Regions from separate parts of the Homo sapiens genome. Here regions 1, 2, 4 and 5 are each linked to region 3. Evidence: promoter capture Hi-C in 16 types of primary human blood cells and fetal thymus (Javierre and others, 2016). All regions are on one chromosome and are shown on one strand. The core of a region is centred on a gene start or on the middle of the fragment in contact, and the rest is flanking DNA. Distances in the headings are between cores, read along the strand shown. Region 1 overlaps SMYD3 (SET and MYND domain containing 3). Region 2 overlaps SMYD3 (SET and MYND domain containing 3). Region 3 holds the start of KIF26B (kinesin family member 26B). Region 4 overlaps SMYD3 (SET and MYND domain containing 3). Region 5 overlaps SMYD3 (SET and MYND domain containing 3).

What was found. Contacts are between HindIII fragments. The CHiCAGO score rates a contact against its expected background, and 5 or more counts as called.
Region 1: a contact is called between a fragment that was not itself captured here and the fragment with the promoter of KIF26B in region 3, in 2 of 17 cell types (megakaryocytes and M2 macrophages). The highest score is 11.3, in megakaryocytes.
Region 2: a contact is called between a fragment that was not itself captured here and the fragment with the promoter of KIF26B in region 3, in 6 of 17 cell types (endothelial precursors, M0 macrophages, M2 macrophages and 3 more). The highest score is 10.4, in endothelial precursors.
Region 4: a fragment that was not itself captured here is called in contact with the fragment with the promoter of KIF26B in region 3 in 1 of 17 cell types (megakaryocytes); the score reaches 5.6 in megakaryocytes.
Region 5: a fragment that was not itself captured here is called in contact with the fragment with the promoter of KIF26B in region 3 in 1 of 17 cell types (monocytes); the score reaches 6.3 in monocytes.

What each region holds. Positions count from the first base shown.
Region 1 is chr1:246,282,629-246,287,891 of GRCh38, reverse strand. The region is part of intron 5 of SMYD3 (SET and MYND domain containing 3); the gene reads left to right. Among named protein-coding and RNA genes, the nearest start is that of SMYD3-IT1, 37 kb to the left of the region's middle. The HindIII fragment of the contact is 2,026 bases long and covers 1,675-3,700 here.
Region 2 is chr1:246,260,618-246,266,305 of GRCh38, reverse strand. All of the region lies in intron 5 of SMYD3 (SET and MYND domain containing 3), which reads left to right. Among named protein-coding and RNA genes, the nearest start is that of SMYD3-IT1, 59 kb to the left of the region's middle. The HindIII fragment of the contact is 851 bases long and covers 2,327-3,177 here.
Region 3 is chr1:245,152,781-245,157,865 of GRCh38, reverse strand. It overlaps KIF26B (kinesin family member 26B), which reads right to left and starts at 2,881. Exons shown (of 15, transcript NM_018012.4): 1 at 2,379-2,881; 2 at 1,183-1,584. The coding sequence starts at 2,441. RefSeq lists silencers at 933-1,472, 3,340-3,539 and enhancers at 3,394-4,069, 4,070-4,745. The HindIII fragment of the contact is 4,692 bases long and covers 59-4,750 here.
Region 4 is chr1:246,306,803-246,312,160 of GRCh38, reverse strand. All of the region lies in intron 5 of SMYD3 (SET and MYND domain containing 3), which reads left to right. Among named protein-coding and RNA genes, the nearest start is that of SMYD3-IT1, 13 kb to the left of the region's middle. RefSeq lists enhancers at 4,113-5,358, 5,276-5,358. The HindIII fragment of the contact is 1,434 bases long and covers 1,556-2,989 here.
Region 5 is chr1:246,205,824-246,211,229 of GRCh38, reverse strand. All of the region lies in intron 5 of SMYD3 (SET and MYND domain containing 3), which reads left to right. Among named protein-coding and RNA genes, the nearest start is that of SMYD3-AS1, 100 kb to the right of the region's middle. The HindIII fragment of the contact is 2,520 bases long and covers 1,732-4,251 here.

The DNA.
Region 1 (5,263 bases), core at 1,438-3,937, 1.1 Mb before region 3:
TCAGCCCTCATTTTAAAAATTAGTGTTTTAGGAATTTAGAAAGCACATTTTCTCTTGACAAAGCTTGGCTGTCAAGAATTTTGCTTGTTGACTGAAAATATTGATTTATAGGTGTCATAATTGAACACTGAGTCTTTCTCTTTGTATTCCTGTTTCCATAAACCTGAATATCCCGTAGGCAGATGGATGCCCCTGGCCAAAACAGAGACAGGGTCAGGTGTAAGGAACCACACAAAACCCCCCCAAATCTAATTACTATACTTCAAGAATAGTATTCCCAAAACTTGGTATTTCTATGTCCATCTTAGAGATGTGGTAATAGGCAAAGTGAGGTTTAGTATGACTTGCCCAAGGTCACCTAGCAAGTGAAAGAAACGCAATTTAAACCCAGCTTGTCCCCCTCCAACCCAGTTTGGACATAGCGGTAAGTTCTTCTGGAGTCCTAACTTAACAGATGGAATGCCAAACACATTTTTAGAAAACATAAACTATTAAATAGTGATTACATTCATGGGTTTTTACTACAAAAGCTTTTTAAATTTGTAATGAAACTGTAAAAGGAAATCTTTAGCTCATTGACCTAATTATTATTCCGAAAACTATATATATTAGAAAATATTTTCTAAGTTTAAAACAACTCTGGACTTTCACTAATGTTTTCTGATCAATTGATATTCATGAAATTCTAAAATGATTGTTGTTTTTTAAAATGTTATTTTAGGCTGGGCACTGTGGCTCACGCCTATAATCCTTGCACTTTGGGAGGCCGAGGCAAGTGGATCATTTGATGCCAGGGGATCAAGACCAGCCTGGCCAACATGGTGAAACCCTGTCTTTACTAAAAATACAAAAAATTAGCCGGTCCTGGTGGCGCACAACTGTAATCCCAGCTACTCGGGAGGCTGAGACATGAGAACTGCTTGAACCTAGGGGGCGGAGGTTGCAATAGCCGAGATTCCGTCACTGCACTCCAACATGGATGATAGAGCAAGACTGTCTCAAAAAAAAAAACAAAAAAAAAGATTTTTTTATTATATCTTGAGGTCATATATTTTCCAAAGATATACCACTACAGTTTTATAATGATGGTCAATGGAGAAAATTTCTCCACTTGAAATTTAGAATTCAAAAGTCTGATTATCAAATATTTGAGAGGCAGCAGACCTACGTACTCTTTAGTTAATAAATATTGAGTGTCTGGTATGTGCCATGCCCTATACTAGGTGGATATACAAAGATGAACAAAAACAGTGTCTCTGTATTACATTTATATTGGCAAGTCATTACTACATACAAATTTCTAAAAATTTTTAAAAAGACCTTCAGGGAGTCTGTAGAAAACTAGCACTAATTTTCTGAGAGTTTGAGTACAGAACTAATGTCAGTCTTGTGTTATACTCAGGAATTTTCATTGAGTGAAAACTTGAGGAAATAATTTGTATGATGAATTTTAAAGAAATTGGGACTTCCCTAAGACAGTGGAAAATATTTGTTTTTAAGAGGCATTGATGGGAGCTGTGTGGTGATTTGTGATTTGTCAGATTAAAAAAAAAGTGCTGTGTTTACCTATGTAACAAATCTGCACATCCTGCGCATGTATCCTGGAACTTAAAAACAAAAATTTAAACAAAAGTGCTGGCAAAGCAAGGTTTTGTTATTATCCTTTATTAAGCTTTTTGTGGGATGGAGGTTTTACTTTAGAATCAGAAACCTCAAGTGTCTTTCTCATATAATGACTTCTTTTCCTCTGGGTAGATACCGAGTAGTGGGATTGCTGGATGGTAGTTCTACTTTAGTTCTTTAAGGAATCTCCACACTGTTTTCCATAGTGGTTGTACTGGTTTACATTCCCACCAGCAGTGTAGAAGTGTTCCCTTTTCACAGCATCCATGCCAACTTCTATTTTTTTTAAATTTTTTTGGTTATGGCCATTCTTGCGGGAGAAAGGTGGTATTGCATTGTGATTTTGATTTTTGTTTCCCTGATCATTAGTGAGGTTGTGCATTTTTTCATATGTTTGCTGGCCATTTATATCTTCTTTTGAGAATTGTCTATTCGTATCCTTAGCCCACTTTTTGGTGAGATTGTTTTTTTCTTGCTAATTTGTTTGAGTTTCTTGTAGATTCTGGATATTAGTCCTTTGTTGGATGTATAGATTGTGAAGATTTTCTCCCATTCTGTGGGTTGTCTGTTTACTCTGCTGACTGTTCCTTTTGCCATGCCAAAACTCTTTAATTTAATTAAGTCCCATCTATTTATCTTTGTTTTTGTTGCATTTGCTTTTGGGTTCTTGGTCATGAAGTCTTTGCCTAAGCCAGTGTCTAGAAGGGTTTTTCCAATTTTTTTTTTTGTAGCATTTTTATAGTTTCAGGTCTTAGATTTAAGTCCTTAATCCATCTTGAGTTGATTTTTGTATAAGGTGAGAGGTGAGGATCCAGTTATTCTCCTGCATGTGGCTTGCACTCGCATGTTTGTACCAGCAGAGTTCACAATTGCAAAAATATGGAACCAGCCCAAATGCCCATCAGTCAATGAGTGGATAAAGAAATTGTGGTATATATACATGATGGAATATTACTCAGCCATAGAAAGGAATGAATTAATGGCATTTGCAGCAACCTGGATGCAACTGGAGACTGTTGTTCTAAGTGAAGTAACTGAGGAATGGAAAACCAAACATTGTGTGTTCTCACTCATAAGTGAGAGCTAAGCTATGAGGGTGCAAAGGCATAAGAATAATACAATGGACTTTGGGGACCTGGGGGACAGGGTGGAGGGAGGTGAGGGATAAAAGACCACAAATTCGGTTCAGTGTATATTGCTCGGGTGATGGGTGCATCAAAATCTCGCAAATCACCGCTAAAGAACTTACTCATGTAACCAAATACCACCTGTTCCCCAAAAACCTATGGAAATAAAAAAAAAAAAGGAAAGGCAGTTACTAGTCAATATCACTAGTAAACATGAGTTTTTAAAATCCTAAATAAAATATTAGCAACCTGAATCCAGCAAATAATTTAAAAGCAACATGACCAGATTGTGTTTTCTTCCAATAATGTAAGGCTGGTTTCACATTAGAAACCTATTAATACAATTTACCATACTCCCTTAAGGAGAAAAATCATTTGATTATCTCAATACAATCAGAAAAAGTAAAGAAAAATAAAAGAATTAGAGGCTGGGCGCGGTGGCTCATGCCTGTAATCCCAGCACTTTGGGAGGCTGAGGTGGGCGGATCACGAGGTCAGGAGATCGAGACCATCTTGGCTAACATGGTGAAACCCCGTCTCTACTAAAAATACAAAAAATTAGCCGGGTGTGGTGGCGGGTGCCTGTAGTCCCAGCTACTCAGGAGGCTGAGGCAGGAGAATGGCGTGAACCCAGGAGGCGGAGCTTGCAGTGAGCCGAGATCAAGCCACTGCAGTCTGGTCTGGGCGAAAGAGTGAGACTCCGTCTCAAAAAAAAAAAAAAGAAAAAGAAAAGAATTAGAAACCTCAGAGAATGGAAATTTTGCTCATGTTTCATGGTATTGAGAGAATTCACGTTGCTGACCTGGTAACCCTGAAGTGTTTAAGTGCTGCAGATGGTCAAAGGAAAGCTGAAAGATTTCGGAGCCTGCTGCTTTCTTTGTTCTGCGTTTGCAACACATTACCAGATGCTAGATGCAGAAGTACTGCAGCACTTGCCTGTTGGGAAAGCTTAATCTAACTGCTCAAGTAGCTGATATGCAGCATCTGACAGCCTGCTATGCCGTTTTGCAGCATACTCACCGGTGCTTTTGATATTGGCTCTGAGGAAGTACTTTTGGTTGCAAGTGACATGGCATGTACCTCTCCAGCAAGACTTCGTTTCTGAGAAATTCATGTAGTTCTTCTTTCATGAGTAATTTACCTTGTTTGATTTTTCTACTGGTTGATATGCTATTTTAGTCAAATATTAATGTGCTACATTTAAATGCTTGACTTCCTTTTGTTATTTTGAAATCAGTTATTAGGGTGAATGGTGTACCTGAAGGTTGTGTGTAACTCACAGTTGTCATGGGCTGTGAAAGCTGGCAAGTGCTGCAGTTTTTGTTTATGACTCGGTTGTGTCAGTGGGAGACAGAAATTCTAAAAGATACTGCAAGCAGATCCTGGTCGATTTCTGTGAGTGCTATAAGTTCTGGGAGAAATGATCTTGGGCTTTAGATGTTATCGCTGTGGCAATTATATTTCTTCTGGTCTCACAGAAGCAAGTGTCATTAAGAGCTTTAAATATTTGAAATTAGAACCATATGAGTTATTTTGAGACCTCTAGTTACTGTAATTAAACATACACAGGTATATATGAATGAGGACGTTATTTATGCATGAGCAAGGGAAGCTTTTCCATGGCTCTGATTATTGGCAGGCAGGGGTGGTGAGGAAGGAAAGCAAGATGGACACATCTGACACATTTAAAGCCCAGTTTAGCCAGAGTAAGGATTTTGAGGTCCTTTCTCTTTGTTCAGATTGCGAGTCGATGGTAGGACTTTGGGAGGGATGTAGCAAAGGGGATGTAATAATGGCAATAGCTCATGCTCATGAAACACATAGGTTCCAGGTAAAATGCTAAGCTCTGTGCATATGATCACTCACTGTTACACTCTTGGCAATGTTATTATCTCTGGCTTAGGAAAGTAGATGACATGCCCAAGATTACATTTGTAGAACTGTGGTGTGAACCCAAGCCACCCTGAGTCCAGATCCCAAAAGCTTGACCACTGTTTTATTTTCTATGGGGGGTTACATGCTCCCTCAGTAAGTTTTAGATTTTTAAGGTGCCATTGTTGAGCAGAAGAACCTTTAGAGCTCCTTATTTCTTTTGTGGCTTTTCCTGTCTCAGGGAAGGTGCAGGCAGAGGAAGTTAAATTCCGATCACTCTGAAGGAAGAAGTTTGCAGCAGTGGTAGGATGATATAGAAAGTATTGACAGTGCTGAGAATCTGGGATTATTTATTCTTGTTTGGAGTGAGAGACTGGATCTTCAGTTTACTTTAGATAATTAACAACTGCAACAAACCAGGTTGATTTATTACATTTTCTAGTTAGATTTTGTTGACTGTTCAGTTATTCTAGTCATGAATAAATTTTTATCATTTTTCCCCATAACATATGTTGAAGCAGAAGTCTCATCTGCTAGAAGCAACATTTAAAGTGCTTGCATAACAATATTGTTGATACAGAAGATTTTTTGTATCCAAACAAAGAAGTTAACTACTGTGCTTCATTTATCTTCATCTGTCT
Region 2 (5,688 bases), core at 1,503-4,002, 1.1 Mb before region 3:
GTTGCCCGATTAAAAAAAGATGGGATGGATGGACAGGGCATGACATTCCCAATAGAGTTCTTTCCCTGTTTTTTACAAAAAAAGAAAGCCAAACTTCCTAGGAATCATAACCTTTGATACATTGTAAACAAAATGTTTAGTAGATGACTATGAAGGATGGACTCAAATGGAAGAGTGGTTAAAGGGGATTTGTGGGGTTCCCTTTTAAAATCAGGTGTTCAGCAAACAAGAACTAAAAAGATTAGTGGGATCTTGAACAAATGATTGCGAGCTCAAAATTCTAAGGAAGGAACTCAGTTGCACCTGCTTTTTTGTAATAGCAAATACAAGGACCTTCAGTGTTAAAAACATTCATGAGAGATTAGCTAACACAGAACAGAAGATTCTCAAACCCAATAGCTTGAGGAGAAAATCCATCTTCTCATTAACTGGAAGATTGTCAATATAAGGAGATGGGAGTAATTCTCAGTTACTTTCATATAATCCTACTTTAAAAAGCAAGCACTGCGGGAGTATTTTCTGTTGATCCGTTGGTTCAAAAAGATGCTCTCACAGGAGAAGGCTCATACAGGCTGGATGATGAGCTCATTATTAAGACATGTGATGGTCACTGGATCCCACAATATTTCTGACATGTTTATTCCTCTTGCTGATTTTCTGACTTTTTATTGTTGTTTTGTTTATACTGAGAGCTGCTGACATGTGAATATCCCAATAGCTATCATCCCTGAAAGATGTGCTTTTTAAGAATGAAGACTGCAGTTTTTCTGGAGTCAGCCTCTTGTCTCTTTCTCCTGGCTCACACTTCACAAAATGAGAATTTTTTCTTAAGACAAACAAACAACAACAACAAAAAAAACGAAGCAGAACTGGATATAGTGGCTCATGCCTATAATCCTAGCACTTTGAGAGGCCAAGGAGGGAGGTTTGCTTGAGGTCAGGAGTTCAAGACAAGCATGGACAAGAAAGTGAGACCCTGTCTATTACAAAAAAAAAAAATACAAAAATTAGCTGGGTATGTTGGCATACTCCCACATCCTAGCTACTTGGGAGGCTGAGGTGGGATCACTTGAGCCCAGGTGTTTGAGGTTACAGTGAGCTATGCTCACACCCTGGTACTCCAGCCTGGTCAACAGAGAAAGACCCTGTCTCGAAAAATAATAAAGATACACTGACCAGAAGCTTCAGTCTGATCCATTGTCAATAAAGAACAGTGCAAGAGCAATTAATATTTTACAAAATCAAAAAAGAAAAGCTAGCAGGATTATTTCATTAGCATGCTTCTCTTCATATGCACCTTTGATTTAAAAATCACTCTCCTGTAGTTTTTTATTTCTTCACAATTATCAGTTGGAAACTAAATTTGTTCATCTCGTAATAAGACTGATTCTGTATGCATCATAGAATTGCAAACATTAAGTAACAAAGTCCATGTAAAGTGTTTAGAACATAGCACTTAGTAAATAGTGGTTATTATTGTTGTCACTATCCCCACTGTCTTTCTTTGTAGATATTTACTTTCACCTTTTCTTCTATAGCAGAGCCACTAACAGGTAATAGAGAAGTAACTAGTTAGATCTTAGGAATTTAAGAAGCACTTCAAGATGTGGACAGAAAAGGATTTGGTTCAGATTGCATACTCTTAGGCTATGGAGATGGTACCTGCAATTCCCATAGAATGTGTATAAAGCACTGTATTGCATTAGAGGCCATGGGATTACAAAAGCTATTCTTTGTAAGACATCTTAGAATGTTGTTGATGTGTGAGAATAAAATCATATTGAAAAAATATAGAAAAGTTACCGTCTTTCATCAGTTCTAAGATGCAGGGTCTCACCATCTTGCCCAGGCTGGTCGTGAACTTCTGGGCTGAAGCCATCCTCCTACCTTGGCTTCCCAAAATGCTGGGATTATAGGTATGAGCCATTGCACCCAGCTAATTGTTTTTGTTTTAATCAATTACCATATTTTTAGCACTGCTGTGGCTTATGCTTTGTTCCTTTTTACTACTACTTGCTTTGAATGATGCTTAAAATGGACCCTTAGGAAGATGACTGTATTGAATTATTATATTCAGAACAATTGATATACTAATTTAAAAAGAATATACAGTCCCAAGTGATAGAATAAACAAGAGTTACTGCTTAGTATACAATAAATTTTGTATTCATTTGATTTCCCTCAGAAGTCTGTATTCGAAATCTGAGTTTCCTTCTATTTATATGTAGGTTACAAAGTTTTTAAAAAGGCAACAAAAAAAAAAACATTTATTTCTGCTCTTCTTAGGCAATATGGCCTTTTGGCTAGAACTCAGAAATTAAAAGCTTGATTTGTTGGTTGTGTAGGCATCTTATATCTAAGGAATTATTTTGGCTTAATTTGGGGATAAAATATTAATTACACCTAATAAGCAGAAATGTAATTATTTAAGACAGTTACTGTCTTACACATTTTTCACTTAAGATATGAAGAAGTGGTTAACGTAATTTCTTCTTCTGGGACTTAAAAGAAATGTTCAAATTAACCACTATTTAGGTTTGATCATGCCTTTGGAAGGAATTGGTATTATCCTTTGAAAATGAAAAGGCATAATTTGTTGAAGGTACATAGAATTGTACAAAAAGAAATCAGTAATTTTCCCATTTTTACTATTAAGTTATATCATAAGCAGCTATTTTGAATGACAGTATGAAAAAGTATGTTTGTGTTTTAAGGAGGCTGTTTTTGAATTAGGAAAGATAAATACGCTGGTATGAAGATCAGCTCATTCAGGAGCAGGCATTTTCCTGCATACTAAGGAGCTTTAAAGGTTAGACAGTAAAAAGAAGGTGATCATTATGTAGTCTGCTCCACCTCATGCCTACCAGAAAATTTATTTCCCAGCCTCCCTAACTTTTCTACTTCAATATACAGCTAACTGTTAATGAGCCCTAACTCTGACCTGGGTATGTGCCCAGGTCACATACATCCTGTCATTTAGTCCTCACCATAATCTCTGAGTGCACAGTAGATGCTGTTAGAATTATCTGTATTTTATAGTACAGAAACAGCCTCAGAAAAGTGAAATAACTTCCCTCAAAATAAGGTAGCTAGTAAATGGCAGAGCTAACATTCAACCTTATCCATGTCTGACTACAAAGTAATCCATCCATTACTTACCTTTTTTCATGGTAAGCTTTTGCTTTTTGGTCAACACTATGCATTGTGCCTTGAGTACATGTACCAACATTGGAAGACCATTCCCATGTGATATTTGTAATAGAATTAGGTATTCAAATCACGCATTCTTGAGACAATTAAAGAATGTAGGATTTATTTACATACAAAGTTGAGAGAATGTGCATCATGCTGTGTCAGGCTTCCTTTCCATGATTCTGTTAGTTTTCAGTGCAGGTATTTGCCACCTGACTTGGGTTTCCTAGATGTCTATAATCAATGAAATATTTTCTCTTTTGAAAAACTATTTTTAAAATACATGTTTTAACAGTGTTGAATTACAAGATGTTTTAAGATAATATAAACCTGGACCCAAATTTCTATGTAAATGTTTATTTTATAGAGACAAGTAAATTAACCAAATAATTCAGTGAATCTTCATTGAGAACCTAATATGACCTAGGTACTGTGCTAGGTGTCAGAGACCGGCTATATGGTTTAGTAGAAAGAGAAATGGTAGACGCTGTGCCAAGCATAGTGCCTGGAACAAGCAGAAAGTCCATAAGAAATATATGTTAACTGAAAGGAAGAACAAAATGGAAACTGTGTCTGTCTGAGTCACCCAAATTAGTAATGTCTGTGAGTTTATTTCCTCATCTGAAATGAAGGGTAATAAAACCTACCTCAGAAGGATTGTTGTCAAGATTAAACGAGTTAAGATATGGGAATATGTCCAGAACTGTGTTTGGTACATATTAGATGTTTAATAATTGTTAGTCATAGTGCGAAAAATAAGTAACACATTATTCCCATTCTCAAGCAATGTCAAGATTTAAAATCGGATTCTTATCCACCATATCGTTAGACTTCAGTTGCCTTGTTCTTCTATTTGCTTTATTCTGCCTGAGCTTCACTAACAATCCACAGGGCTTTTGGACTCTACAAAGAAAACACACACACAAAAATATCATACACTCTTCTATATCTACTCACATCTGCACTCAAATTTAATTCTGTTCTGTGAAAAAGAAAATCGGCACAAAGTTATTGCTTAATACTGTCAAATACTTTTTAAAATTAGTTGCCCTCTGTAACAATAGGAGAGCATGGAAGAATAAACAAGCAGCAGAATGATGTCAGAGAAACTTTGGCCACAGAAGGAGATCAGTAGGTATTGGAATTTGAACAGCTTATTTTTCACTTACTTCTATACACAATATGGATCTTACAGATTTATTGTAACTTTTTTCTCCGATTTAAGAATTGCCAGAAATAAAGCTGAGTGACAAGAAAAGGATGTGTGTACATGAGACAGAGGGCGCTGTTTATGCCCATCTGTACAGAATGTCATTCGTTTTAAATATGATTTTCCTCTTTTTCCTCACAGAAAGAGAAAATGGTATATTTCTCCTTCTATGCAACAGAGAACTGATTTTTTTTTTAAATTCTTATTACTGTTTTTTTTTGAAGTATAATAGAAACAAAGCAGTGTTTTTCTTTGTTAAGGTCAGTTCATGTTTTAGTAATGTGTCTTGAGCTTTCTGTATTTTCTGAGCTAACCATTTAAAAAATTTTGACTTCTACACCAATTATTTTATGTGTGATTGTTTAAATTCTATGGGTCTTGTTGATGACCTTCCTATATTTATTGTCATTGAAAACATTCAATATGTAAATATAATAAACGATTATATCTTTAAGAAAATAAAAGTTTTCTAAAATTAAATGTGAATTATCATTAAAGCATAAAATGCTGTGACTATAAGGTAACATTAAAAAAAAAAAACAAAGAGAGCTGGGTGCGGTGGCTCATGCTTGTAATCCCAGCACTTTGGGAGGCTGAGGAGGGTGGATCCTGAGGTCAGGAGATCGAGACCATCCTGGCTAACACGGTGAAACCCAGCTCTACTAAAAATACAAAAAATTAGCCAGGCGTGGTGGCGGGCGCCTGTAGTCCCAGCTACTTGGGAGGCTGAGGCCGGAGAATGGTGTGAACCCAGGAGGCGGAGCTTGCAGTGAGCTGAGATGGTGCCACTGCACTCCAGCCTGGGTGACAGAGTGAGACGCCGTCTCAAATAAACAACAACAACAACAACAACAACAACAAAACCCAGAAAGAGATGACTTCCAGCCAGAAGGCGAGACTCTGTGGGAAAAGCCTTCCTTCTAAGGGGAGGGTTTGGGCTGCTATTTTTCTTACTTTCCTTGAGAGCAGCTTCAGGACTGTACTTGGGTCACTCTACAAGCTGTTTCCTTTATTTTTTCTCTCTCAACAAAGATTTACCTGTCCATTTATAAAGTGCAGATTGTTTCTCTAAGATGGCAGATAAGAGGCTTGTAGCATGCCTCAGCCACTTGGAAATGGCTAGATAGTGCATGAAGATAAACTGTATGAGCTTTTTTTCAAGAAGGAAAATGGGGCTGGGCGCAGTGGCTCACGCCTGGTAATCTAGCACTTTGGGAGGCTGAGGCGGGTGGATCACGAGGTCAAGAGATCGAGACCATCCTGGCCAACATGGTGAAACCCCATCT
Region 3 (5,085 bases), core at 1,632-4,131:
TGTGAATGAAGAAACGGTGTTAAATCGGAAGGTCTAGCACGCAAGAGCGAAATAAGCTTTTTGATTCCTTGAGATGTATCCTTGGGATGTCACGGCAGATGTATCAAACTACAAAAACGGTACACTGACAACCATCCACGAGTTCATTATTCTTGAGATAAGTTCTGCATTCATAAAACCAATTCTCCTGGTGGTCATTTCCCCCATTTTAAGTTTCACAGCGTCTGTGGGCATTTGTTGAATTTAACCCTTGCCTATGAAAACATCAACGTGTGTATCTGCATACGCAGGTTGGGCCAGCAGACGCAGTCATTCCTAAACGCCTACTCGAAATCACAGTATTTCATTTCTAAAGTCACGGAAATAATAAACCAGAAATTGACGTTGAACCAACAGTGTCAAAAACCTCTACAGCAATCCACTCTATTTCCTTGATATTGCTCTCTAACCACTGATAAAAACTCTTTGAAGTGGCCGAGTAAATATGATCATTTGATAGTACTTGGACCCAACAGTGCAAATACAATCGCATTGCTATCCCCTGGGGGCTCGGGCCAGTCACACACTGCGGGCAGGGTTGCTATGGAGGAACCAGTGTGCTTGGCGCAGGAGCAGGCCAGGAGGGAGCACTGCTCCGAAGAGCCACCCGCCTCCGGATCTTCCTCAGACACACACACAGACTGAGAAGGGGAAAATGCTGGCTTTCGAGTATGTTTCTGTTTCTGCAACCGCGGAAAGGATGGACCACAAACAGGCAGTGGGAAATGCCAGCTCCGAGCATCAGCTTGCTTTTACAGCTCCCGCTGACATTTTTGTAAAGGATCACAGGTGGGGGTGGGGAGAAACATCGAAAGCGCAGCCTGCAGCCGCCAGGGAGAGCTGGGAGGGGGCGGCAGGAGAGACCACCTGGGGGCCTCCCCCGTGGGCCGTGAGGCCTGTGGCCACGGGCGCCCCTTCGCGCTCGGGACTCGGTCCTCCTGCCCCCCGGGCGGCCTGGCTGAGGAAGGGGCATGGGTCGCCCCGCGTGCTAGAGCCCCGTGAGGTGTGGAGCATCCCCAGCGCCGCCGGGGGCTCTCGCGTGGAGCCGGCGCGCAAGGTCGCGGCGGGCTGAGCAGCTGCTGTGGGTGGCGGCCCGGCCCCGCCCTCCCGGCGCCTCCCCAGCCAGCCCCGCGCGGCGCTCACCTTGCCCGGGAAGGGCCCCGGGAGGAGCAACCTCAGGGCCTGCCTCTTGAGCTCCACCAGGCGGGCGTTGCAGTTCTCGCACCAGACGCCGCGGTCCGAGCCGGGGGAGGAGCCGCCGCCGCTGCCGGAGCCCGGGGAGCCTGTGCCGAAGCCCGGAGAGCCGCCCAAGGAGCCCGGCGAACTAGTGCCGATGCCGGGGGAGGCGGGTCCCGGGGAGCCGGTGAACGAGCTCGGGGACGAGGTGCCCGAGCCGGGAGACGGGGTCCCCGAGGAGCCGAGCGCTGAGCCCGCGCCCTCAGGAGTGGGCCGGCTGCCGGCGCGCGACTCCTCGTATGCTTTCCGGTACCAGCTTTCCGGGGAGAAGGGCGCTGCGGGCTTGGTGGGCGAGCAGACTTCATTCACCTGCGGGGAAGACACGCCGGTGTCAGGGGCTGCAAGGCGGCGGGCTGCAGCGCCCAGGAGCTGGGTCATACGTGCGCCACCAAGTACCCGCTCGAACCGCCCACGGGAGTCGGTTGGGGACCTCTCCAAGCCCTGCGGCCAAATTGCCCTCCGTCTGTCTCGTTAATTGTCCTTAAGTGAGTCCCCACCGCCCAGGTGACCCCTGCGCTGGTCCCCGGTGGCCTCCTCCTGGGGTCAGGAAGGGGACTCGCTCGGGGCCGTTTCCACGGCTTCTGCAAGGCGGGGGGGATCCATAGGTTCAGCGCCCCACGCTTTTGAAGCCGGCACCTATCCCAGCAAGATCCCGGGAACAAAATCCTGGAAGACCCTATGGGGGGGGTAGGGGGAGGGCTGTGATTTCAGGATTTTTATTCATACGGGGTCCAACTCTCCGGATCCTGCAGGTAAACGAGAGGCTCTCACGGCTCCAGCTAAACGATCCGAGGTACTGCCCAGCATTCATGGGAAACCCTCCCCTTCGGCTTCACTCTGCCTAGAAGTGCAGGAATGCGGCAAAAGTTACGGGTGCGTGGAAAGGAAGGAACGAGAGGGCTGAAAAAATTCCGAGAGCGAGGCGAGCGTGCGGGCGTCCCCGCGGCCGACCCGCCTCCGCGCACTCACAACCCCGCCAGCCCCGGGGGCGCCTCTGCAGCGGGGGAGAGCTCGGGGCCGGGGCCGCACGATCCCGGGGAAAGGGGGACCTCCGCCGAGATGGGTCTGGTAACGCGTCTCCGCGTCGTACCGTCACAACTTACCCCGTATTTCTTGCCCCTGGTGGAGACCGCAAGCCTCTCTTTATTCCCAGCTACCGAATTCATGGTGGCTTTTCCAGAGGAGAGTATCTAAAGGTTCCACCGACGCTACATCCAGAAGGTCCTCCAACCCAGAAGCGTCCCCCGGCTGCAGGGGGCTGGCTCTCAGCCCTCAGGGCAAGGTTTCTTCAGCGGTGGGGTGGGAGGGAATGAAAGCAAATGGATCCCACAAGTAATAGCACCAATTTGCAGAAAGGGTTGGGGTCGCTGGTTTATTCTTCTCTTCAAAGCATGCTTTTCCTCGTCCCCTTCTGCCTCTTCCAGCCGCACGTCCTCTTGTCACGGCCACATCCACAGAACTGGCATTTTCTTCAGCCAAGTCAGTCCGTGCTCCCCCACGAGGAAAGCGAGGGATACAATCAGGGCTCGCGGCCGCTGCCGGGAAGGTGGGAGAGCCGAGCCGAGTCAGCTGTGGGAACTTGTCTCCTTCACCGAGCTTGGTAACTGAGTTCAAAGAAATTCTCCCAAAATATAAAGATCCAGACTCGGGGAGGAGCCTCGGCGTGTCGCCGAGCCAATATCCGCCGGCCCGTTTCGCCTGACAGTTGCGCGAGGGCCGGGAGAGGGGCGGCTCCGCGTGGCCCGGGAGCGGTCGGCGGTCACAGCGCGCGTGTGCGCCCGGGCGCAGCGCGGAGGAGCCTCGGGAACCTGCCGCCCTCGCCGCGCCGGCCGGGATCCATTTTATGTGGCGGCGCTCGTGCCTGACATTGCGAGGCCTGGAGCCGGGCTGGGGCTGGGGGCGGGGGATCGTCGATCTCGCCGCGTGCGGGGAAGTTCCTGGCGCGCGGCCCGGGCCCGGGGCTCTAATGAAACGCCGCTGCGCGAGCCTGGAGCCCGGGGGCCGCGCGAGCGAGCGTGGCTGGACGGAAATGCGGTGCCCCAGCCTCCCCCGCCCCCAAGTTCTTTCTCTTCCTGACAAGGCTTGCAGGTCTGTCTGTGAAACGCCGTGCAAAAGGGATTGAGTCACAAACAAGTCCACAAACATGCCGGGTCCTCCCCCCGCCCTTTGTTCTCGGAGAGCTGCCGGGCAAACCTTTTCTGGAATTGCCCTACCGACCCCGGGCCGGCCGGGGGGCCACCCTCCCCGACCGCAGCCGCAGGACTAGGGCCCTTGGTCCCCCGCCCGCCCGAGCCCCGGTCTGTGATGGACTAAGCCGCCCGGGGCTGGGACAGGTGAGCCTGGTGACCCAGCGGGCCGCTGCCGGGCAGGGGAAACTGAGGGCTTCGCCGCGCTGCACGCGGACGACTCTGGCCTGGAGAGGGGGTGTGGCGCGAGCTGGCCTTGGCCTCTCCTTGCGTGGGATCGGGCCCCTCGCCCCCCGCCGCCCGTTTCTTCCTGCGCCTGGGCCCCGCGGGGTCTCCGGAGCACCCCGTCATCGCTCCCTCTCCGATCGCCCCCCGCCCCAGTCCCCCGGCGCAGCGCCCAGGAGCGCAGGAAGCCGGCGTATGCCAGGCTCCACACGTGGCTGCTCTGGGGTGTCATTTTTCATTTCACGGGAGGACATTTCTTCTGGTGAGCCAGCAGGTCTGTTTTGTTGTGACCTTTAATTAACACCCCGCGAGACGCCTCTGGAAGGACTGGCCGGGCGCAGGGATCACGTGGGGTGTAACGGCATCTCCGCGCCCGCGGGGAGACCCAGCCCGGGGGTGGGCGAGGGCGCGAAGGACGTTCAGGGCTTTCTGGTCGCTGACTTCCTTCTGAGCTGTGGACGACGCAGGAGGGGGCAAGAAGACAAAGGTTCGGGGTTCTGGAAGCCTGGGGCCACGCCCCCACTCTGCCTTCCTCGGGGACAATTTCTTCTGTGCCTCCCGTGCTCTGCCCCACTCCTCCCCGCTCCAGCTCCTGCGCGGGAATATTTCACAGCCACCAAAGCGAGGTAAAAAGGTCAAAAGGAAGATGGCAAGAACAGAGTGGACGTTTCCGTTACGTTCCCACTTCCAATTTAAAAGCGATCCTATCAATAGGGGACCTTAGGGGGCAGGTACACCTCCAGGCAGCACGCGCCAGCTCCCACCCGCATCTGTATTTCGCGTAGGTGCCGCGAAACACATCATCGCCATTGGCCACGAGCCGCTTATCAGCCAAAAAGCAGCGTGTGGTGAAACGAGCCGGCGAGGCCGCGGGTGGGGAAGGTGGGGTGTCGAGGGGGAGTGTTGGGGAGCTGCGCGATCCACCTCGGAGACGGGGGAGCCCAGAGCTGCTCTGATTTGCATTTCTAAGTAGCTGGGGGCCCAAAGCGTGTTTGGTGGGCTCCGAGCGCCCTCTGTTGATTAAAGTTTATAACCGGAGGCTCTGCAAGAGTTTTTAAGAAGCTTTCAAAAATTGATGTTTATGTAAAATGTATATACATAAGATGAAACGCACACATTTTAATTGTTAAGTTCTATGAATTTTGACAAACGTGTACTCTGCGTAGGCCACCACCTCGATCAACATCTATAAATTCCTGTCCCTCTTGAAGGTTATCTACCTTTTCCCAGGCAATCCCCACCTCTCATAAGAAACTACTGTTCTGATTTCTATCAGCATGGGTTAGTGTGGACTGATCTGGAAGGGTTTTTAATTCATAGAATCCGTACAGCATGTACTCTTTTGGGTTTGGCTTTTTTCACTTAACACAGGTTTTTGAGTTTCATGTTGTTGCTAGTA
Region 4 (5,358 bases), core at 1,023-3,522, 1.2 Mb before region 3:
CTGGAGCTGGCTGACTGCTTGCATAGACTGCAAGCAGCTTGAGGGTCGTAACCATTTTCCTAGCACCTGGTGTAGTGACAAGTAGATTGCGGAGATTCAGTGAGTGTATGCTTTTCCTCCATGGCTTGCATTATGCTTTCAGTCCTTCCCATTGTTGCATTGCCTTTATGCCTCCATTCCTTCACGTTGCATTGTCACTTACATTACGTTTTAGCTCCTTCCCATTGTTGCATTGCCAGTGTGTTTCTTCAAGCCACCAAAGCTTGACGATGCCTGCCGCACTGTTGCTATGACATTAGCAAACTAATGTCCATAGGGTATTTCTCTAGATATAGATGTCTGTAGGGTATTTTTCTAGATAGGGAATTATTTTTGAAAGGCTGGGTATTTTTGAACCAATTCGTAAAGCTGCTCATATACACGAAGGAGGGTCATGAAAGCAAATGACAATTCAGCAAGGCCTAGTTATGGCTGGGGTGTGTGTGCGTGTGTGTGCGCGCGTGCGCGTGTGTGTATGCGTGTCACGCGTGTGCGTGTGCGTGTGAGTGTTCAAGGAGGGTGGTTCCTAAGGCTAATGAGCTTCTACCTGTAAGTTATTCTGATTTGGTAGAAATGTAGCTTTGAATAATAATCATTAGCAGTAGCTGAGTGGGCTTGTGCTTTGTCAACACTGCTGAGTTTGATAATTAGATGATTACAAGGATGTGATGACATTTTGTAAATCCTTTCCTGGAGATATCTATATGAGTTTGCTAATCATTATGGCAGGCTTCTAGCTTTTCTTTAGAGCAATGATGATGCTACAAAGATTTTTTTTGTGCTGAAAATATTTTCCTTGTATCAGTAAGATTTGGATGATATTTGTCACTTTCTGCCACCTCAGAGTCAGCAAGGAGAATCTTGCAAAGTATTTAGCATTTTGTGGAAACAAGACATTATGTTCTGTATAGTTAAAAATTATCTTTTAGTTTATTGGAGTGGAAGGGCATTTTCTCCATGACAAGGAAGGTTTAAACTTGCATCATCTTGGTATTTAAAAGTTCTTTTGAAAACAACTCATGTTTTCAATTACAAAATAATATAGAGCTCTCAGTCAGTGTGATCATTCTATAGAGTGTGATCATTCCATAGGTCACATATTTACTAACAGTCTTCAGTATTAGTTGAGTAGGCTCTTTAAAGCCTTACTGTTAGGCCAGGTGTGGTGGGTCACGCCTGTAATCCCAGCACTTTGGGAGGCCGAGGTGGGTGGATCACGAGGTCAGGAGTTCGAGACCAGCCTGGCCAACATGGTGAAACCCCGTCTCTACTAAAAATACAAAAGTCAGCCAGGCGTGGTGGCACATGCCTGTAGACCCAGCTACTCGGGAGACTGAGACAGGAGAATTGCTTGAACTTGGGAGGCAGAGGTTGCAGTGAGCCAAGATCGCGCCACTGCACTCCAGCCTGGGTGACAGAGGTAGACTCCCTCTCAGAAAAAAAAAAAAAAAAAAAAAAAAGCCTTACTCTTTGTCCTTTCCCCTAAAACTCAGGATTCCTTTTCTTCTTCCAAGCTTTGCTCGTACAGTTTCTTCAGCTCTGCCTGGCAAATTTCGTTTAAACATGGTGCCTTTTCTAGGAAACCTTTCACAACTCTCTTAGACATGTCCATTAGGACAGGAATGGGAAAGCAGAAGTGTAAAATATAAGTGGGTAAGAGAAAGGGCAGCAACTTCCATTATTTTGCTCCTCCAGTTAGGTGCTAGTATCTTAAGCTGGCCATTTCATCACTAATGGGAAGAGCTAAAAGCTCCAGTCCATCAGGATTGAATGGCTGCTGAAAATGAATGTCAGTGTCTCACCTCCAGACATTTTGGAGCTCTTTTCTTCCAGTCTATTCGTGTCATTCTCTCTTTTCAGGTAGACTTGCCTCCGATTTCTCTTGTCCTCTATGAAGAATCAAAGGATTAATGGTTTCTGAAAAAAGCAGGTCTTGTTCATTGGAGCTGCCAAGTTACTAATTACTTCTAATTATCTTTATAGCAAAATGATAAACATAGAATTCAGTGCTGTATTGTACAGCAAATTTTTTTCCTGAAAACATTGCTTATAATGTTTATAAATAATATACCAGGTTATATTAACTAGGAAAATTTAGAGTTTAACAGGGTTCTATTATGAACCTTTTTGTGGAAGAAGATTTATTTTGGCAAGCTCATTGCTCTGTCTTAAAAACCTAGATTTCCTCATGTAGTGTCTGGTATTCCATAAAGTAAAGCTCATTTGCAGTCAGTTAAATCTTTTTCTTTTTTCTTTTGCAGAGACAAATCATTTTTTAAATGGAGTTCACCAGATTCTTAGGGCCTATTTGAACTTATATTTCTAGAATTGGGTGGGATCTGCCTTTCTAAATTATAATTCATAGGAAGAGTGCTATGGAATTGGCTAGTAAAGACTCTTGGCCGTGAAGGCAATGTCTCAGCAAGTGGCTTCCTCTTTTCTAAAACCTCATTAGTGTCCTTGGGAGCATTTCATTGATAAATACCTATCCCACAGTCCAGCTTGCTTTTTTCTGAATGTAATTTCAAAGCCCGGTAACTTCAGTAGATTTTTTTGATTGACCACAGTAGACACAGAGTATGAGAAACAAAATAGAATCCTCAAACTTTCTACCTGGTAAACAGAGGAAGTAAGGATAGTGTTTTCAGGGGCATTCATTTTCAGGCAGCCATTCAGTTCTGACATGTTTGATGTATTGGAGTTTTTGGTTATTCTATTCCTGTTTGTGGTGAACTCTCTAGTTCACTATACCTTCGTCTGGCTGGAGGAGTATGATAATCCAAGTGCCTGCTTTTATTTTCTTGTCTGCATGTATTTTATATTTCTGTTTTCCCATCCATGGCATAATGTGATCATGTATTTTGATAAATGCATTGTTTTGCTAGAATTGTAGCCTAGTCTGTGAAATGAAAATTAAATGAGAATTAAACTTTTTTTTAACAATTAAGCTTTTTTTAACTTTTTTTTAGTATTGCTAGTATTAAACTTTTTTTCACAATTAAAAAATACATATTGGTTTTGGAGGCACCTTTGATGTTCTACTAATTATATTAATACAGAACGGATGCTTCTTAAAAACTTTTAGTGCAAATAAGCTTTTAAAATCTTAGTATCTTAGGCACATAAGTAATTTTCATTTTTTAGATGGATAATAAAATCTTACTATCTTAGGCACATAAGTAATTTTACATTTTTTAGATGGATAATAAAATCTTACTATCTTAGGCCTGTGAGTCATTTTACATTTTTTAGATGGATACTAGTTTAGGTGCCCATTTTGATGTTGTTTTTAAAAATACTGACCTTACAGTCCTTTCCATCTTTATTTTTGAGTGACAGCAGAATCCCGAGTATAAGAAAATGTGATTAATTCTCCCATATTGAAGTCATTTAATCATGCTTTGCCTAACAGCTGCTTTCTATTCAGTACACTGAACATAAAATTCTGGAGTGCCTTTGTGCTATCATAAATTGTAAATGTGAACCATTCTTCCTCTTAAGTATCATATGGTATTGCTGTTTTGAATTTGTCAGTTTGGTAGGGGGTTTTTCTAGAGATTGCTGTTGTAGTCGGCTAGGAGGGCCTTCTTCTGGGACGAAACTCTCTCCCTCATTCTCTATATCACTGTGATATTTAGTATTATATTATTATAATATTTAGTATTATTTGTTTGCAGTAAAGAAGTGGGGGAAAATTGGTTTGACTTGTCATCCTTTTATTTCTATGGCATATTGAAAAAGTGGACAAATAGGGCCAAAACAAAGCAGTGGGATTCTTACTTGGCTCTTTTAGGTCAGAAAGAACCAGTTTAATAAATTTCAGTTCAACAAATTTGTACTGACTCTATTCACAGCACCATGTGGAGAAATAAGGATAATTAAGACTTCATTTCCGCCCTGTCTGGTAGGATAAATGAAAGAAATATATAAATAAATATAGTTATATTGAAGATTCGTTGAAAGCAAAACTGTGCTGCCTTCTTTTTGTAAATCTTGCTTTCCACGTTCAGTACATGGAGGTGCTCACAGTATTCTCCAGCAGACTGCGATAATGGTGATGCGGAGACCTAAGATGGAGATTTGGAGTGGGGAGATCATTTGATTTGGCCTTTAATGGAAGATACTGTAGGTGGAAGAGTCAGTGCTGACTTCCTAGAATTTAACAGTCACCATTGCAAATAGGCTACCGAGGTACCTGGAGTTGAGATTAGATCCTTGTGACTGGATGCCAAGGAGCTTCTTGCTGCTGGTTCATGCTTGACGGACGTGCCTGTTTTGGGTTAGGAGCAGTTGATTTCAGGTTTCCCCTGCAATTTATGCCTGGGGCTGTTCTAGTGAGCCTCACTTCCCTTTGTGAGCCCTCCTCGTGCTGCTTTCTCTTCCTGATAAGAATCCCCTAATTTGGCCGGGCGCGGTGGCTCACGCCTGTAGTCCCAGCACTTTGGGAGGCCGAGGCGGGCGGATCATGAGGTCAGGAGATCGAGACCATCCCGGCTAAAACGGTGAAACCCCGTCTCTACTAAAAATACAAAAAATTAGCCGGGCGTGGTGGCGGGCGCCTGTAGTCCCAGCTACTCGGGAGGCTGAGGCAGGAGAATGGCGTGAACCCGGGAGGCGGAGCTTGCAGTGAGCCGAGATCACGCCACTGCACTCCAGCCTGGGCGACAGAGCGAGACTCCGTCTCAAAAAAAAAAAAAAAAAAAAAAAAGAATCCCCTAATTTATGAGAGCAGGGTTCTTCAAATGGGAAACGTGGCTGTAGGCCTTTGTTTGTTTATTTTGCTTTTTGTTTTCTGCTTTTCAGAATAAACTGAGAAGGATTTTTAGAAAGACATGAAGAGAAAGAGCCACTTAAGGTGACTCAGGATTTGGGATCTCAGGTGGTTTGAGATCTATAAAAGAAGAGAGTTTCAAAAAGGAGGTGGCCAATATATAAAAGGACAAATTCAGCACTAAATACAGCAATTAGAAATTCAGCGGAGCTATTTTTCATGTGGACTAAAAGTGTGAAAACTATTTTATACTCCAGAGTAGAAGCTGAGTGATTAGGCTTCTCCTGTTTTTACCAAAATGATAAGTTGTTTCTCAGAATATATTGCTCTGAATGAAAAGCTGAGTTGTTTTTTTTTTCATTCTTAAGAAAAACCCATCCTCCCCTATGTTTGAAACTCAAAGTTACTTCCATCTGACTTGATGTCAGGTCATTGGTCTGAGGATCAGCCAGTGTGTTTTGAAGTACTGTATCTCACCAGGAACCACAGAGTCACTTAAATCCTACATGACTCGGCAAAATCCTTGTCATTAGGATTGGCTTTGCCAA
Region 5 (5,406 bases), core at 1,742-4,241, 1.1 Mb before region 3:
GTCAAAGAATTTTTCTTCATCAAACAAATCCCAAAGCACTGGTGTTATACTGACCTTCCCTCACTCCTCTTTCCTGGATTCTTAGACCAATTTGGTTCATGATTTTTTTTTCCTATAATAGAAAAATTAACAAACATGTTTGGTCAGTGAAACAGAAGGTATTTGAAAATGATACCTTGGAGCAGTGTCTCAATCTTCAGGAAAATGGTGAAGAGGAAATACAGCATTGATTGCTGTTGCTAAGCAACGGCTTTCACAGCAGACGCGCCTGGGACAGTGGTGGTGTCTGCCAGCACACCATGCGGGGCCGAAAGCAGTGCAGCACTCATGTTTCTGCGAAATCAGAATTGAAGCCCTGCATTTCCTCCTTCCTCTCGACTTTCTCTGATCAATACCTGAGAAGTTAAGATCGTACGGTCAAATATATAGACTGTGAGAAATTTGGAGCACCTTGGGGATTTTTGGAGAGCTGCGAATGGATTTGTAGAGCCAATTCTGTTTTTTTTGTTTTTGTTTTTTTTTTTTTAGTTTCGCCCTTGTTGCCCAGGCTGGAGTGCAGTGGCACAATGTCGGCTCACTGCAACCTCCGCTTCCCGGGTTCAAGTGATTCTCCTGCCTCAGCCTCCTGAGTAGCTGAGATTACAGGTGCCCGCAACCACGCCCAGCTAATTTTTGCATTTTTAGTAGAGACGGGGTTTCGCCATGTTGGTGAGGCTGGTCTTGAACTCCTGACCTCAGGTGAACCACCCACCTCGGCCTCCCAAAGTGCTGTAGAGCCAATTCTAAAGGAATCAGAATTCCTATTTTATATCAGAAGTACTGTTAGTTTTCTCCTTCATGCATTTATCCATCCAGTCATGCCTATGTTCTCACATATTTAGGGAATATTCAAGGCACCCTGTTACACTTAAGAGCTTGGCATCTCTTACGTTGCTGACATGTGCACTATGCGTGTGATGGTAGGCACCATTGCTGCAGGGTGGTGTAATGGAGAGCATCCTCTTAGGACTGTGACTCTCAAACTTTAGGGCACATTGGAATATCCTGGGCAGATCATTAAAAGCTTTCTCAGCCCCACACTTGGTGAGGTCTGTTACCTATTTCCAGACCTCTGGAATATGTCCTGTTACCTGAGGTCTGGAAAGTAACTTAGGAATATGCATTTTAAACAGGCTCTCTAGGTGATTCTGATATTGGTAGTAGAAGAGCCATTCTTGAGAAATACTGAAGTCGAAGAATTAGTGAAGATTTGACAGAGTTACCAGATAAGATGTCATTTGTCAGTTGTAATTCATGAACGGGGAGGCTACTAACTGTAGTTTTACCTGTTCAGTCTGTTCCCTCCCAGGTTGCCTCTCCTGTGTTTCCATCTTGGACTTGCTCTTGATTCACTAGAGTCAGACTAATTTGAGTTCTTTCCAGAAACTGGAATGTGATTATTCCTTAGTGGGGAGGGGTAGCCCCCCATCACTGCTTGGGACTCATGCAAGAGCAAGAAATGCAAGTATACAAAAGTACCCAAGTCTTGATCTCAGTGTTCTGCAGTACAAACCACTAAGACGGAAATTTCAAACTGCCTTTCACTGAAAACAAAAAGCAAAAGAACAAGGAAACATCTAAATCAACCAGTTACCTTTTTTTTTTTTTACCCCAATGCTGATAATATTTCAGTGGTCTGTCAGTTATGAATCTGACCAGTCCTTTAATAAAATCTTCTATGCTTATAAAGCTTAAGTGATTTTTGCTTATACAGTCTTCTAATAGATAACTCTTTTTTTCCCCCTCTTGTTATATATACCCTGAATCCCAGTTTTGGTCTTAATGCAGACCATGTTTAAGATCTTGGCCTTATGCCATTTTGTAGTACAGATAAATAATTAATGGTTTTTATTAGTTTGTATAATTCATTAACCATTCATCTATCAAGCTGAATGACTTATAGATGGCTTTTACATTTCAAATTGTTCAGAAGTTATTAAGGTCTGTAATTTATCATCACAGCCATTTCTGACCTCGTTCTTGGTCCCTCACTGGAATGATGTTCATTGAATGTGTATGACACAATATGAAGAAAATTAAGTTGCACTAAAGACATTACCAATATGAGTAGGGAGGCTTAAAATGTTGGCAGTAATCAATAGTGGGACTTAATTTGTATATTCTGTGATGGAGACATTTTTATTACATTTATATTTTTAAAATTGATTCCATTTTTAAATTAGTTGCCCTCATTTCAGACTATACTCAACAGCGAAATAATATATTTTCTGAATCTAAATCATCATATATTATTTGACCTTTAGCTGAATCCAGTAGTAAAGATCAAAATGAATTATGCTTGAGTGGAAAGAGGTTTTAATGTTGCTTTACACTTGGTTTTCCCCCATTCCACATGCTGTTTAATATTATTGATTCAGCTTGAATGATCATGAGCCCAAAAACTACTTTAGTTGGTTTTGGCTAATGCATTCTTGGATGCTATGGAAGTGCCTGTAACACCTGAATGGTTCTGCGTAAATAGTCACGCATTTTTATACCGTCCACGAGAGGACATGCAACGTGATTGCCTATGAGCAGCAGAGAACAGTTTTCTAGACGTATGTTTTTCCCTTGGTACAAACATGTAGCTTCCGTTAGCCCTAATAGGAGCTGCGTGTTTGCATCTAAGAATTCAGTATTTAGAATATGACAAGCAGTGAGTATTTGAGGAGTTATTACTGAACCTTTCAAATAAGTTGAAAGGCAGACATGATTTTGAGTACTGGGGAAGTGTATTAATCCCTTAGAAGTGAACTATTCAGAATATTTAACTCTATTATCATGAAGTGTTAGTGAGTAGGGAACTATCCACATGTCTAGATTCCTTTCAGCTTAATAGTGTCTCCATACATTTTACAGTCATATCAGCTCCTCGTAATGCACTTCACCACGTGAAGTGAATGAAATAGCCTCAGTCTTGTTCACAATGACTGGGCCTTTCAAACTCTCCTTATTTAATTTGCTGGCATTATGATGGCTCTTGCAGGACCTCTGTTGCAGAATCAAAATGTGCATGCAGAGAGACAGCTGTGCTTTGATTTAGCCTATGAGATAATAACTATCATTCTAAAATTGTCTTACATCATATAGACACAAATTTCAAATCTCACCTATTTTCCCAGCTCTCTCTTCAGATATGACTTTGCTAGAATGAGGCATATTCTTCCTTGTCACTCTTCATTTTTAAAAAAATTTTGAGAATGTAGATTTACTTCTACTCTGGCAGTTTGCACATCTTGGTTAACTAGACCAATTAATGCAAAAGAATAACCCCCAAATTTACTGCTCCCCAGGTTATTGTCCAGTCCCTGTCTCTTATTAATGTGATTCCTGTGAAAACTTGAGATTGAAGAATATAGTGAAAAAGTACCATCTACCCCAAAAGCAAATCTAAAATGAGAAAACTTTCTTAAGCAAATTCTCCCCTACCAGGCACATGTGATTTATTTTTCTTCCTTCCACTTAGAATTGAAAAAACATGATTCATATCCCATCGTTGTTATAATTTTGTAGACTTCAGAGCTTTTCTTTTTTCTTTTCTGTTTTAGTTAAGTTGTACGTTTCTTTGTATGTCCTTTTGTCTTTTACTGTTTGTAAGTGTCCTTGATAGATATTACCATAATGGCCCTTTCCTTTAGCTTATACTCCTATGTTATGATTTGTTTTCCACATCACCTTTATTTAGTAACTCCCAGTCCATTGACCTTTTTCACTCCTTATGCTGTATTTAGATGGAAATAAGATGACACGTACCAGTTCCATCTTGGAGCGCTAAGAGATCTTCAGGCTCACAAACTAAGATTAACCTACTAACATGGGCCACTGATAACGATGAAAACGTGGAAGGAGAGGCAGTGTAAGTAAAAGAGAAACCTGCATCCAGACAATAAGTAATGAGGATCTGATGGTGATAAAGATGAATTTAAAAGACAGGAGTAAACATATGAATGACCTACACACAAGAATTCAGATTTTCTGATGTTTTATGTGTGGTACAGCCTATTCATAGAGAATAGGTGTGTCAAATAACACATATTTAATTTTTATATCCAATATCCAGTATCTTTATAGAAGTGACTACTCATTATTATGTTCATTTTAGGTAATCTGAAGTCCTAAAACCTGCCTTATACGTTTGGCATAGAATTGTGTTCCCTGGTAATGCCCACTAATGAAATGTTTAGGGAACTCAACTGTGTTCCTTCAGAAGCTTCTGAGTCTGCCATCACTTTCGGTGAATCAGTGCTTCTGAAAAGTGAATTCAATAATTAATACGAGTTATTTTTCTGTGAATTTAGCTTTTTACAGTTGTTAAATCAGCTGAGCTGTTATACAGTTTATAAAACTATATTAAAATTTAATATGATTACTCTAAAGTGGCTAAGGTTTTAAAGTTTTCCCAACTTTTTCAGAGCTTTATTAAAGCATTAAATATAAAGTGCTCTCTTAGCCACAGTATGACTAGTTATTTATTGGTTAGAATGACAAATCTACTTGTCTGAGAAGATGCTGAGTTAGAAGTTCTGTTCAGACAGTCCCCAAATTGCCTTTATGCAGCACAGTGGATAAAAATCTGAAAACAGAATTGGTTATTGATTTTTGTTTTGCATTGGTAGCAAGAGAAGAATAATACTGTAACTTTTTTTTCAAGCATACAAGTTCTGTACATAATTTTTCTCTGTCATTTTTGTGTGGCTTTTGGTACCACTAGAACATTCCATATGACCCTAACTCTATTTCTTATATTTCTGTGAGATTCTTTGAGTCTAAATACCTCTTTATTACAAGTTTCTTTACCCATGGGATTCCTGTTGCTTTTACTTAAGAGATAGCCCAGAACTCCTCTTACATTCTTTTCAGAAGTGTTCATGTTGGTTTATGGTAGAATAGATTTCAATGTAGGTTTCCCTTCCTTCCTTCCTTCCCCATTTTGATGTTTAGTTATATGTCATCTGGATTAATTTGTTTTTCTTTTTTTAAATTTATTTTAGGCTTAAGTTGTATCTAGATTTTTATAAAATACATTTTAAGACTACTCTTTTTTCCCTAGTATTTCCACATCTAATTGAAGTTGTCCTAAAAACAGTGGAGGAATATTATTTTATTCAATATTTTCTATAGAAAGCCCGATCCTTGCCACACATGCAGCATCAGGGAAAGCCTCAGCTGAGACGTGGAAATTGAAGACAGCATGATGGGTAATTCATCACACCAGTGAATTTAGTATTTGTTCACCCTTTTATAGGCTTTAATATTGTGATCCCCACTTTACATATGAGGAAGTGAAGATTTAGAAAAGTTTAGTAACTTGCCTTAAGAGTGTAGCAGAACTGGGAAGTTTGCTCTTGTTGTTGTTGTCTTTGTTGT